3 separate regions of the Homo sapiens genome follow, and regions 1 and 3 are each linked to region 2. The links are contacts of gene promoters, found by promoter capture Hi-C in blood cells and fetal thymus (Javierre and others, 2016). All regions are on one chromosome and are shown on one strand. Each heading gives the region's core, a stretch centred on a gene start or on the middle of the fragment in contact. The rest is flanking DNA. Distances are from core to core; before and after follow the strand shown. Region 1 holds the start of ARMC5 (armadillo repeat containing 5). Region 2 holds the start of RNF40 (ring finger protein 40). Region 3 holds the start of GDPD3 (glycerophosphodiester phosphodiesterase domain containing 3).

Region 1 (3,469 bases), core at 460-2,959, 700 kb before region 2:
GGCTTCAAATGTCAGGCCAAGGGGTCAGGACTTGAATGTGAAGGCACTGGGGGCCACACAAGGGTTTTATGAAGGGGAGTGACACGATACAATCTGACATCCATAGGGAGAATGCATTATGGGGAAAGAATAGGAAGGGGGGAGTCAAAAGGCTGTCATAATAGTCCAAGCATGAAAAGACAATAGCTTGAACCAACCCAGCTACTGGCATCACACAGCACAGAGATACCAGTCTCTGGGCACACAATGGAAGTAGGAAGAGAGAGAAGCAGATAAATTCAGAAGATATTTAAGATGAAAAATAGTAGCTGAATGATGGGGGTTATTTAATAACCAAAGCTCTTGTCAAACATATATGGTCCAGATACATTTTATGTAAATTTTAAATATATTAATGCTTCCCTTTATCCGAAAAGTTAAGATGTCATCAAAACTAGCATAATTTCGTGGAAGGCAGGTAGTGACATGTAAACTGCTTTCACACATTGCCACTAGGAGGCACCAATTTAGCTGGTAAACAGAAAAGCTTATGTTTTGCTAGGATTTGTTCTTACTGTGCTGGTTTTAATTATTTTTATTTATTTTTTCCTGCTTCCTAAGCGACTACTGATTTGTTTGGTTTTCTAAGATACGAGGTCTTGTTACGTTGCCCAGGCTGGAATGCAGTGGCTATTCACAGGCAGTCATTGTTCACTGCAGCCTCAACCTCCTAGGCTCAAGGGATCCTCCCGCCTCAGCCTCCCAAATAGCTGGAACTACAGGCGCGTACCACTGCACCCAGCTTATGCTAGTTTTTAATAACTTGAAATACGTATCATGCTTAGAATATTTGCATATTCGTGCCATATTTGTACTTCGTTTTCTCCCCACTCTGATTTTTTTAGGTAGCTATTATTGCCCCATTTTACAAGGAATCCTAGCCTCGGAGGGGTTAGGTGACTTTTGCAGATCTCCCTTTCTGAACCACTACACCTTCCAGCTCATCAGTGGGGCTTCAGAACCTTGCACAGGGCCGGACACATAGTTGGGCACTGAATGTCTGCTATGAACATCATAACTGGACGGTAAGAATCATCTGAAAAAATCACCAAATAACTCTTTGGCCTCCGCTAGTCCAGCTTCGAAAGAAGTCCTCAACAACCAATTCCTAGATAATGGCTACAATTATCTGGTCTGGGAGGGCTCTCTCTCATCTATAGAGAGTGCAGTGACGTCACGGGGCACAACAGATTGAGAAACAGGAGCGATGCGCCATCACAAAGCACGTTATTCCGGGATAGGACACAAAGAACTCCAGACTGCCCGGGTCTAGAGAGCAAGGGAGTTGCAAACCTAATCTTTCTAGGAAACGGGGGCGGAGCACTTACCCAAAGGGAGTATGCCTCCGAGTCTGCGCACTTCGGTCCGGCACGCCCCTTCCGTACAGCAATCGGCTAGGATGCTGAGCGCCAAGTCCAGCGTCTTGCGCAGGCGCACTGGCGGCGTAGGACTAGACGACGACACAGCGGAGGGGGCGGGGCCCGACGCGGGGGCGGGGCTAGAAGCTCCCGACGCGGCCGACGAGGGGGCGGAGCCGGGGCCTGCCTGGGACGGGGCGGAACCCGCTGCAGCCGCTCGCCGTAGCAGCGCGAGTAGGGGGCGGAGCCCGCCGCGTGCCCGGAAGCGCTCGATTCCCCCCGCTGCCTTGATGTGGCGCGTGCGGAGGGCTAGGAGCGCGCGGCTCAGGGGTGTCTCGTTGGTCGCTGGGTCCTTTTCCCCACCCAGAGCCTCCCCGGCCGCCGCCGCGAGCTGCGCGAGGCAGAACGAGAGCGAGTCCGTGAGGGTTGGCTTCGCAGCCGCCATCTTGGCTCGGGCCTCAGACTCCGCCCCGCTTCTCGCCGCTGATCCCAGGGAGCGGAACTGGAAGACAGGGAAATCGTCGGGCACCGCCTCGCTGACGCTGTTTAGCGCCACCGCAGTGATGCAAGTCGGAAGTTGTAGTTCTCGACCCCGGAAGTCTGTCCTTGCACACGAGGCGCGGCAGTACCTTAATCGCAGCGCATCCTGGGACGTGCGGGCGGTGCATGAGGGAGATGTGGTCCGCGTCGAGCTTCTCACGCCTACCTCGGGAAGCGCTGGAAACTCTTCCAGGGCCCTCCAGGTGGGCCAGGGCCTCCGAACAGCCCAGAAGTCCGACCACGGAGCCTTCGTGCCGTGCCCCGCCCCCGGCGTGCACTCGGCGGGGACCGCCTTTTCTCCTCTAGGCTCGCTTCGCTGCCCCCCAGCGGTGGTGCGGCCCGGCCTTGGGACGGACTCCGAGAACCCCGAGCCGGGCCGAAAGTGCGGGGTCCTGACCGCGCCGCAGACGGGGAGCCCTCGCTCGGTCAGAGGAAGAAGAGGGTTAAACCTACCGAGAACGTTCGCTGCCGCTTCCTAGAGTGACGGGCTTGTGGAATTTTCCGTTTCCGGAGCTGGACCCCGGTGTCCCGAGTGTCCTCCGCTCTGGACGTGCTCGTGAGCTCAGGAGCTGGCATCTAGGAAACGGGGAGTTCTTCACTCGCAGCGCAGTCGGCCGCGCCAGAAGAGGCGAGGGAGAATCCGGACGGGGCGGGGCGGCGGGGGAGCGGGACATTCGCGTCCCGGGGAGCCCCCAGGTCACCCCTGGATTGCGAGGTGGCTCCGCCTGAGCAGCCCTTCCTGGTGTGGTCGGGGCAGCTGCCCGCCCGGAAAATGGTCAGGCTCTAGCCCTGGGGAGGAAGAAGCCTTTGCCAAGAGCAACCGTCTACAAGCCCCAAAACCTGCGAGTGCCGGAAATGTGGACTGACCACAGCCTGCCTCCCCGGCTTCATTCACCACCAAGGCAGCCCCTCTGGTGACAAGCCTTACCGTTGTCCGGGTTATGGCAGAAGCTTCCGATGTGGCTCTGATCTGGTTAAGCACCACTGGGTACACACCGGTGAAAAGCCGTACTCCTGCCCCGAGTGTGACCATCGCTTCGGCCCTATGCCTGTGCCTAGTGTGGTAAGACTTTCAGCGTCAGCTCCAACCTGATCCAGCACCAGCGCGCTCACACCGCTAAAAGCCTTACCGCTGAGGGGACTGCGGCAAGAGTCTCAGCCTTGGCTCCACCCTGTTGCAGCACCTGCGCTCCACATGGGTGAGAAGGCCTCTAAGTGCCTTGTTTGTAGTAAGAGTTTTGTGCACAGTTGGAATCTGCTGCGGCACCAGCACAGTCACAAAGTCCGGAAACCTGATGCTTGGTGGTGAGTGTGGCCAGACCTTCGGCCACAGCTCCCACCTGCCCATCCACTAGGCGGCCCACAGCAGCACCCCTGCGTCTGCCTGCAGTGTGGCAGGGCCCTAGCGCAAAGCTCCAACCTGGGCCAGCACCAGCGGACGCACTAGGGCGGCAGCCTCTGCAAATAGCCCTGGCTTCAATTTTAGCTGAAACTTCAGCTCTGACTTTGGTTCGGACTTCAAGGAAATGGAA
Region 2 (3,387 bases), core at 141-2,640:
TTTTTGTGCACTGCACTTTACTGCCCAAACATGAAATCCATTTCGTGAGAAGTAGTAAGATAGGCAATTCAGGGGCCCAACACCAAAGTCCCCTCCTCCCCAGGACTTCTCCCAGAACTTAAGCTCCCCAGATCCCAGCACTCTGGTCCTACCTCTCAGCTCTGATGTCCCCGGCTCTGGGAGAGGAGTCCCATCACATGTTGGCCCCTCCTGGGTCCCAGGTGCCTCAGGCGCTGAAGACAGCTCCCCCTGGCTCTCATGGCATCGGAGAAGGGCTTCCACAGTTTCATCCAGCTGGAAGGAGAAAACATCAAAAATGTTATGAATCCCTTAGTGCTTTCCAACATGATACTCCTTTCCTAGCAGGGGAATCTGGGGATTGGCAGCTGAATCAAGGCCTGGTCTTTGAAAGCAGAAGGTATCCACCTGGGCCCAGTAGCGATTGACGATGAGGAGTGTGGCATCATCTGTGGCCTGCCGCTTCTCCAACTTCTCAATTCGTTCTCGGAGTTCATCTTCACAAGCCTGCCGTTGTTCCAGCCGCTCTGCCAGTTTCTTGTTCTTGAACTGTAGTACCTTCAGGTCCATCTCCTCCTACCAAAGGAAACAAAGGGGCCGACGAGAGCGTCAAGCAGGGCCCACAAACCAATCACAGAGAGAGAAAGAGGAGCAGAGCATCTGCAATGCATGGGAGATGGAGGTATTCCCACACTAACCGCTAACAGAATCTAAGGAGGCTCAGACAACACACAGCGAAAGTGTCTTTGTTGTGAGGAGGCTCACGTTGTTTCTGCCTGTCCCCTTGTAAATCCTTAGTCTTTGACAAGTCACACGCCCCCTGGAAACCTGTTTTCCTATCTGTAAAGGGAAGACAGGCGTCGTGTTCTGAGCTTCTTTCTAACCTTTCTTTCAAGGTCCTGTAACGCGGACCTTGCTAAACTTGGGGAAGTGGGTGTAAGATTCCGCACAGTTTGGCCAGAGAACAGAGGGAGGGCTCTGGGAAGTTCTGAGGGTTAAGGCAAGAGCCCACGAACCGTGGAAGAGATGCCTCCAAGACGAATGGGCTCGATAAGAGTCGTGGTGGTCTTCTCCTCACGACTCAGCTTCTTTTCCGGGGGCCCTGAGCCCCCGTCGCCGGCGGCGCGTTTGTTGCCTGGCCCAGACATGGCCGCGGCGGCTGGAGCGATGCAGGGTCCCCTGAGGGGCGTCAAACGGGAGGAGGCGGTACTTCCGTCACCTGCAGAAGACACAGAGCAGAGATGTGGGAACGGCTGGTGTTCCACAGCCCCAAACACCCTCCACCCTGCACACACCTGCTGGATCCCGTCCCCCCCGGCGCCAGAGCCCTCACCAGCAGGAGGGTCAGCCTAGCGCCGCCATCTTGGATTTCACCGGACGTCACTGGGCGTCACTGGACGCCACTGCCCCCCCCCCAACGGTGCGCAGGGCGCAGGCGCCAAAGGCAGCCCCGGATGTGAGGAAACTTCTTTATCTTCTGCTTCTATTGGTTACGCTTGGTCCCGCCACTCGGGTCCTCTGGCTTCTTCCCAAACACCTCCTCTTTCTCTCGGTGATTGGCCAAGAGGCAGTTCCCATAGTAACTGACACCGCGCTCCCACTTCCCAGCCTGGAGGACAGCACCGGCCCTCGTATTAGCAACCTGGAAGAGAGGGCGCCCAGGTGGGCACTCGCAACTTCTCACGTATCTGCGCGTTCTCTTCGCTCCCACTGGCGTGAGCCTGCGCTTTCCGCCTTCCTTCCCTCACAAGCCCCCTTGGCAACCGTCGCCGTTGAGACGGAGGGAGACGCCCCCACGGATTCGCCCCGCCGCGCCTCTCCGCGCGTAGATTGGCCGGAGCGAGGCGAACGGGCCCGGCCTTGGTAGCCGCCGACCGAGCGCTGGCTGTCCTGGAACCTAGGCGGCGGGAGCCCGGGGCGCCTCGCGGCACGGAAGAGCGGCGAGATGCTCAACCGCAAGACCAGCCACTTTTTGGGAATGAGGGTGCAGTCGGAGCTTGAACATCTCTCCGAGCTGCGGCGGGAAGCGGGGAAGGATCGCAGCTCAGTGCATGGGTCGGCCGCGCGGACGCGTGCGAGTGTGCGGACTCAGTGGACGACGGCGGCGGCGGCGAAAGCGGATGAAGACCCCGGAGCCAACTTGTTTCCGGTGAGGGCGGGACAGTCTGGTCTGCTCGTGAATATTTATAAACCGGCTCCCCCGCAGGCGCCACCTGTCATTATGCTTACTAACGTTCGGGACGTCTCCCGGGCTGCTTGGGCGAGGAGAGGCAGGGGTGTGTGACCCCGGTGGTTACTGTGCTCGCGTAGAGCACCTAGGGCCTGCTGAAGCCCTCCCTCGCCCGCGCCTCTCCTTAGTCCTTGAGATGAGATGGCAAGTTACAGCGGCTTCTCCGGCCTGCTGGAGATTCGCTACGGGCCAGGACACCGCAGCTGCCTTCCCCAATTCGCTTTCTTTCCGCAGCCGCCGCTGCCCCGACCCCGGATCTGCATGTGGTGAGTGTGAAGAGACAAAAATTACACTGAATATTTGCGTTCTTTATTGTCTCCCCAACAGTCCTGTCTGTGGCCAGGGCATCCCCATTTTACAGATGAGACTGAGGCCTGGAGATGCAATTACTCCAGGTGACTGGAAGTTGGCTTTCCAGCCTCTCCAGTCCAAAGAGGAGGCAGTGTGAGAAAAAAAGAGCCAAAGACAGAATGTAAATGGAGTCTCATGGCCGCTAAGGAGTATTGTACAGAGGGGGACACTGAGGGCCACAGGGAGTACTTGACCAAGGTCATACAAGGTAGTGGCAGAGCAGAAAAAAGAATTCAAGATTCCTAACCCTAGGCTTTAGAAATGGAGAGGCTCATAAGAGTTCATTTAGGCCCAGAGAGTTAACGATTTGCATAGTCACACAGCAAGCTGGCAAAAGAGCCCAGCTTCACGCCGGTGGCCAACTCCCAGTCTCACGCACTAGCTGTCACAGCCTTGTCATGATAGGTAACGGCCACCAATACTCTTTTTCTTTTACTATAACAGGAAGTACCTGGACGTCCATTCCATGCACCAGCTGGAGAAGACCACCAATGCTGAGATGAGGGAGTAGGGACTGAGGGGGGCGTGGGAAGAGCTCTTGGCAAAGGCTGAGGGGTCAGGTTGGGAAAACATGAGGAATGGCTGACTCCAAAGCATGTGGTGGGTGTAGGGTGATGAAAGGAGGCCCAGTTGTCACTCACTCCTCTCTCCCTCCCAAGGGTGCTGGCTGAGCTGCTGGAGCTAGGGTGTCCTGAGCAGAGCCTGAGGGACGCCATCACCCTGGACCTCTTCTGCCACGCGCTCATTTTCTGCCGCCAGCAGGGCTTCTCACTGGAGCAGACGTCAGC
Region 3 (3,571 bases), core at 941-3,440, 650 kb after region 2:
CGAGTCCTCCAGCCCCAAATGTCTCTGCCTGTCAACACCTTGCATCCTCCAGCCCCACAAGCCATTCTAATCTCCTTCTAGGAACAGAACTGGCAAAGAGGCAAGAGGTCACTGAGGGCCTCTGTCACCCAGGTGAGGACCTGAGCCAAGCTTCAGCTCTGGGTGTGGCAGAAGCAGGTGGGGCCATGATTGCTTTGGGAGGGGCCCAGCAGCGCCCAGCCTGACCCAGATTGCCAGGCCTCCTCACACCTGCTGCCAGATCAGCAGTTCACATAGCTGTGGGGACCCCACTGGCCTGCCCCCACCCACGCTGCCTCCTTGCCTCCTCCGGTCTCTTCCTGTCTTCAGCCAGGTGTGGCCTGATAGAAAGAAGGCATGCGCACCTGGGCTCAAACTCCAGCTGTGCCACTTAGTAAGTGCTGTGTGATATTGGGCAAGGCACCTCACCTCTCGGCGCCTCAGTTTCCGGAGTCAATCTATTTATCTTTTTTTTTGGTTTTGTTTTTTTGAGACAGTGTCTCGCTCTGTCACCCAGGCTGGAATGCAGTGGTGCAATCATAGCTCACTGCAGCCTCAAAACTCCTGGGTGCAAGGGATCCTCCCAGCTAGCTGGACGAGCCATTGCAACCGGCTAATTTTTTTTTTTTTTTTTTGTGGAGCTGGGGTCTTGCTATGTTGCCCAGGCCAGTCTCAAACTCCTGGGCTCAAGCGATCCACCACCTCAGCTTCTCAAAGTGCTGGGATTATAGGCGTGAGCCACTGTGCCCGGCCGAGACAGTTCTAATAATGAAAGCATAAAGCCCTAAGCATTGTTCTAAGAGGTTTACATGTATTAATTCCTTTAATCTTACAGCAGTACCTCAAGCTAGGTACTATTATTATCTCCATTTACAGATAAGGAAACTGAGACCCAGCCTATCCAGCTGTGAGGGTGAAATGAGAGATGTTGAGGTCAGGGCTCCAGTGGGTCTGCCCGGGGGGTGCTAACGACTCCTCTTCTGCCTGCTTCTCTCTTTAGGACCTGCCTCCTGCCTGCCCCTCTCCCGCCAGACTGTTAGAAAATGGACACTGTGCCCAGCCCGGACCTTGGCAGCCCAGGCCGGGGTGGAGCATGGGCCTGGCCACCTCTCTCCTTTGCTGAGGCCTCCAGCTTCAGGCAGGCCAAGGCCTTCTCCTCCCCACCCGCCCTCCCCACGGGGCCTCGGGACCTCAGGTGGCCCCAGTTCAATCTCCCGCTGCTGCTGCTGCGCCCTTACCTTCCCCAGCGTCCCAGTCTCTGGCAGTTCTGGAATGGAAGGGTTCTGGCTGCCCCAACCTGCTGAAGGGCAGAGGTGGAGGGTGGGGGGCGCTGAGTAGGGACTCAGGGCCATGCCTGCCCCCCTCATCTCATTCAAACCCCACCCTAGTTTCCCTGAAGGAACATTCCTTAGTCTCAAGGGCTAGCATCCCTGAGGAGCCAGGCCGGGCCGAATCCCCTCCCTGTCAAAGCTGTCACTTCGCGTGCCCTCGCTGCTTCTGTGTGTGGTGAGCAGAAGTGGAGCTGGGGGGCGTGGAGAGCCCGGCGCCCCTGCCACCTCCCTGACCCGTCTAATATATAAATATAGAGATGTGTCTATGGCTGACCCTGGCTCTGTCTGTGTTCGCGACGCCCCCGCCCTGCCCCGTGCGGCTCTGAGGACAGACTTGACTTGGGCTTTCAGGGGCCTGGTGCCCTTCACTCCCAGCTGCCCAGGGCTGGGGACGGGGCTCTGGAGAGCTCCAGACTCCTAGAAAGAAGGGGGTCAGTTTTCCCCTTAGTCACTGTCCTGTCCTCTCGCTAATGGCTTCCTGTCTAACTGGCTGGGGGTGATTCGGGGTGACTCAGGAGCACCCTACACACCCCTGGATCCTCTGAAATGGCAAGGGGTAGGCATGTTGGATGCGCTGGCTACAAGTACCAGTGAGAGGGAGAGGTCCTGACAGTCCTGGGTGGTTTTTACTCCCCTCATGTAGCCCAGGACGGGGCTGCTGGGGGCTGGGAAGGGCCTGGGGATATGAGAGCCAGGGCTACTTGCCTCACCTCCTGACACTACCCCAGCTTCAGCCGAACCCTGCAGCCTGGCTCCAAGCCAGCCCAGCGGCAGGCTCAGCAGGTCCCAGGGGCGTGGCAGTGGCCAGTAGTAGAGCCGGCCCACACTGGCTAGGCAGGCAGCACAGTCCCGCGGACGGCTGAGCGTGTGGCTGCAGGAGCTTCTGTGGGAGTACGGTCATGAGCCTTTTGCTGTACTATGCCCTCCCTGCCCTGGGCAGCTATGCCATGCTCTCCATCTTCTTCCTGCGCCGGCCTCATCTGCTGCACACGCCCAGGGCTCCCACCTTCCGCATCCGCCTGGGGGCCCACCGAGGAGGTGAGCCGGGTAGGGGTGAGAACAGGTGCCAAAGTGGACAGCACAGAGGGGTAGGTCCAAGGGGGCATGCTAGAAACGGGGCAGGGACCAAGAGAGAAGGAGAGCGAAGTGGCAGGGCAGGGTGTGGACGAGGAAGAAGATGCTGGCGCAGCCTGGGCTGGCTGGGGAGGTGAGGCCAGAGGGAGGATGGAGCCCAGAGAGGGAATGTGGGTGATGAGGTTGGGCCAGGCCCCTAGACCCCAAGCCCCAGAGGCCCACTCCAGTGCCCCCCACAGGATCTGGAGAGCTGCTGGAGAACACCATGGAGGCCATGGAGAAGTGAGTGTATCTGCCCCTGCCCAGGCTGCCATGTGAGGGTGTGCAGGTCGTGGACTGCATCACAGCAAGGGACGCCATTCACTTCCTAGCTGGGTGACTGGCGCCCCCTGGAGGTGGCCTGCACATCCCGCCACGAACTCCGCTCTCACATTCCCGGCCACCTCCCAGCCACCATGCCCCTCATCCCAGTCCCCTGCCCCTGCCCCCCGCTGACCTTCACCCCCACAGCTCCATGGCCCAGCGCTCGGACCTCCTGGAGCTCGACTGTCAGCTGACACGGGACAGAGTGGTGGTGGTGTCACATGATGAGAACCTGTGCCGCCAGTCGGGCCTAAACAGGGATGTGGGCAGCCTGGACTTCGAGGTGGGCCCTGCCCTGACACCCCAACCCCCACCCTGAGAGTCACCATGCCCAATGCGGGCCTCTAGTGACATCCTTCCTGTCCTCCCCAGGACCTGCCCCTCTACAAGGAGAAGCTGGAGGTTTACTTCTCTCCAGGTGAGAGCAAGGGCTTCGAGCCCTGCCTGGGCCATGCCTGCCTTCCTTGGACCTCCGCCTTGGCTTCCCTCTGACCCCTTTTCCCACACCACCCCCAGGCCACTTTGCTCACGGGTCAGACCGGCGCATGGTTCGTCTGGAGGACCTGTTCCAGAGGTTTCCAAGGACACCCATGAGCGTAGAGATCAAAGGGAAGAACGAAGAGCTCATCCGTGAGGTGGTGCTGCAGGCAGGGCTAGGGCGGCCACCGGGGGCGTGAGAGAGGCCTGGCTCTCCCTTCACCTCCTTCTCCTCCTCCCAGATAGCAGGCTTGGTGAGACGCTATGACCGTAATGAAATCACCATCTGGGCCTCGGAGAAGAGCTCG

What was found. Contacts are between HindIII fragments. The CHiCAGO score rates a contact against its expected background, and 5 or more counts as called.
Region 1: a fragment that was not itself captured here is called in contact with the fragment with the promoter of RNF40 in region 2 in 2 of 17 cell types (fetal thymus and erythroblasts); the score reaches 7.6 in fetal thymus.
Region 3: the fragment with the promoter of GDPD3 here is called in contact with the fragment with the promoter of RNF40 in region 2 in 2 of 17 cell types (naive CD8 T cells and naive B cells); the score reaches 7.3 in naive CD8 T cells.

Annotation. Positions count from the first base shown.
Region 1 is chr16:31,457,898-31,461,366 of GRCh38, reverse strand. ARMC5 (armadillo repeat containing 5) reads right to left here and starts at 1,866. Exons shown (of 6, transcript NM_001105247.2): 1 at 1,368-1,866. The coding sequence starts at 1,842. RefSeq lists a silencer at 1,318-1,667 and enhancers at 1,858-2,197, 2,196-2,736, 3,384-3,469. The HindIII fragment of the contact is 2,362 bases long and covers 529-2,890 here.
Region 2 is chr16:30,760,325-30,763,711 of GRCh38, reverse strand. RNF40 (ring finger protein 40) reads right to left here and starts at 1,390. Exons shown (of 20, transcript NM_014771.4): 1 at 1,352-1,390; 2 at 1,035-1,237; 3 at 427-594; 4 at 153-294. The coding sequence starts at 1,166. PHKG2 (phosphorylase kinase catalytic subunit gamma 2) reads right to left here. Exons shown (of 10, transcript NM_000294.3): 10 at 2,536-3,387. It overlaps CFAP119 (cilia and flagella associated protein 119), which reads left to right and starts at 1,650. Exons shown (of 9, transcript NM_001014979.3): 1 at 1,650-2,167; 2 at 2,483-2,514; 3 at 3,044-3,106; 4 at 3,259-3,387. The coding sequence starts at 1,964. RefSeq lists enhancers at 1,072-1,181, 1,302-1,561, 1,049-1,686, 1,642-1,821, 2,412-2,561 and 1 more and a silencer at 2,098-2,327. The HindIII fragment of the contact is 4,015 bases long and covers 1-3,387 here.
Region 3 is chr16:30,112,156-30,115,726 of GRCh38, reverse strand. It overlaps GDPD3 (glycerophosphodiester phosphodiesterase domain containing 3), which reads left to right and starts at 2,190. Exons shown (of 10, transcript NM_024307.3): 1 at 2,190-2,387; 2 at 2,663-2,705; 3 at 2,934-3,069; 4 at 3,159-3,204; 5 at 3,303-3,421; 6 at 3,506-3,571. The coding sequence starts at 2,249. MAPK3 (mitogen-activated protein kinase 3) reads left to right here. Exons shown (of 9, transcript NM_002746.3): 9 at 1,019-1,622. RefSeq lists a silencer at 1,925-2,219. The HindIII fragment of the contact is 12,096 bases long and covers 153-3,571 here.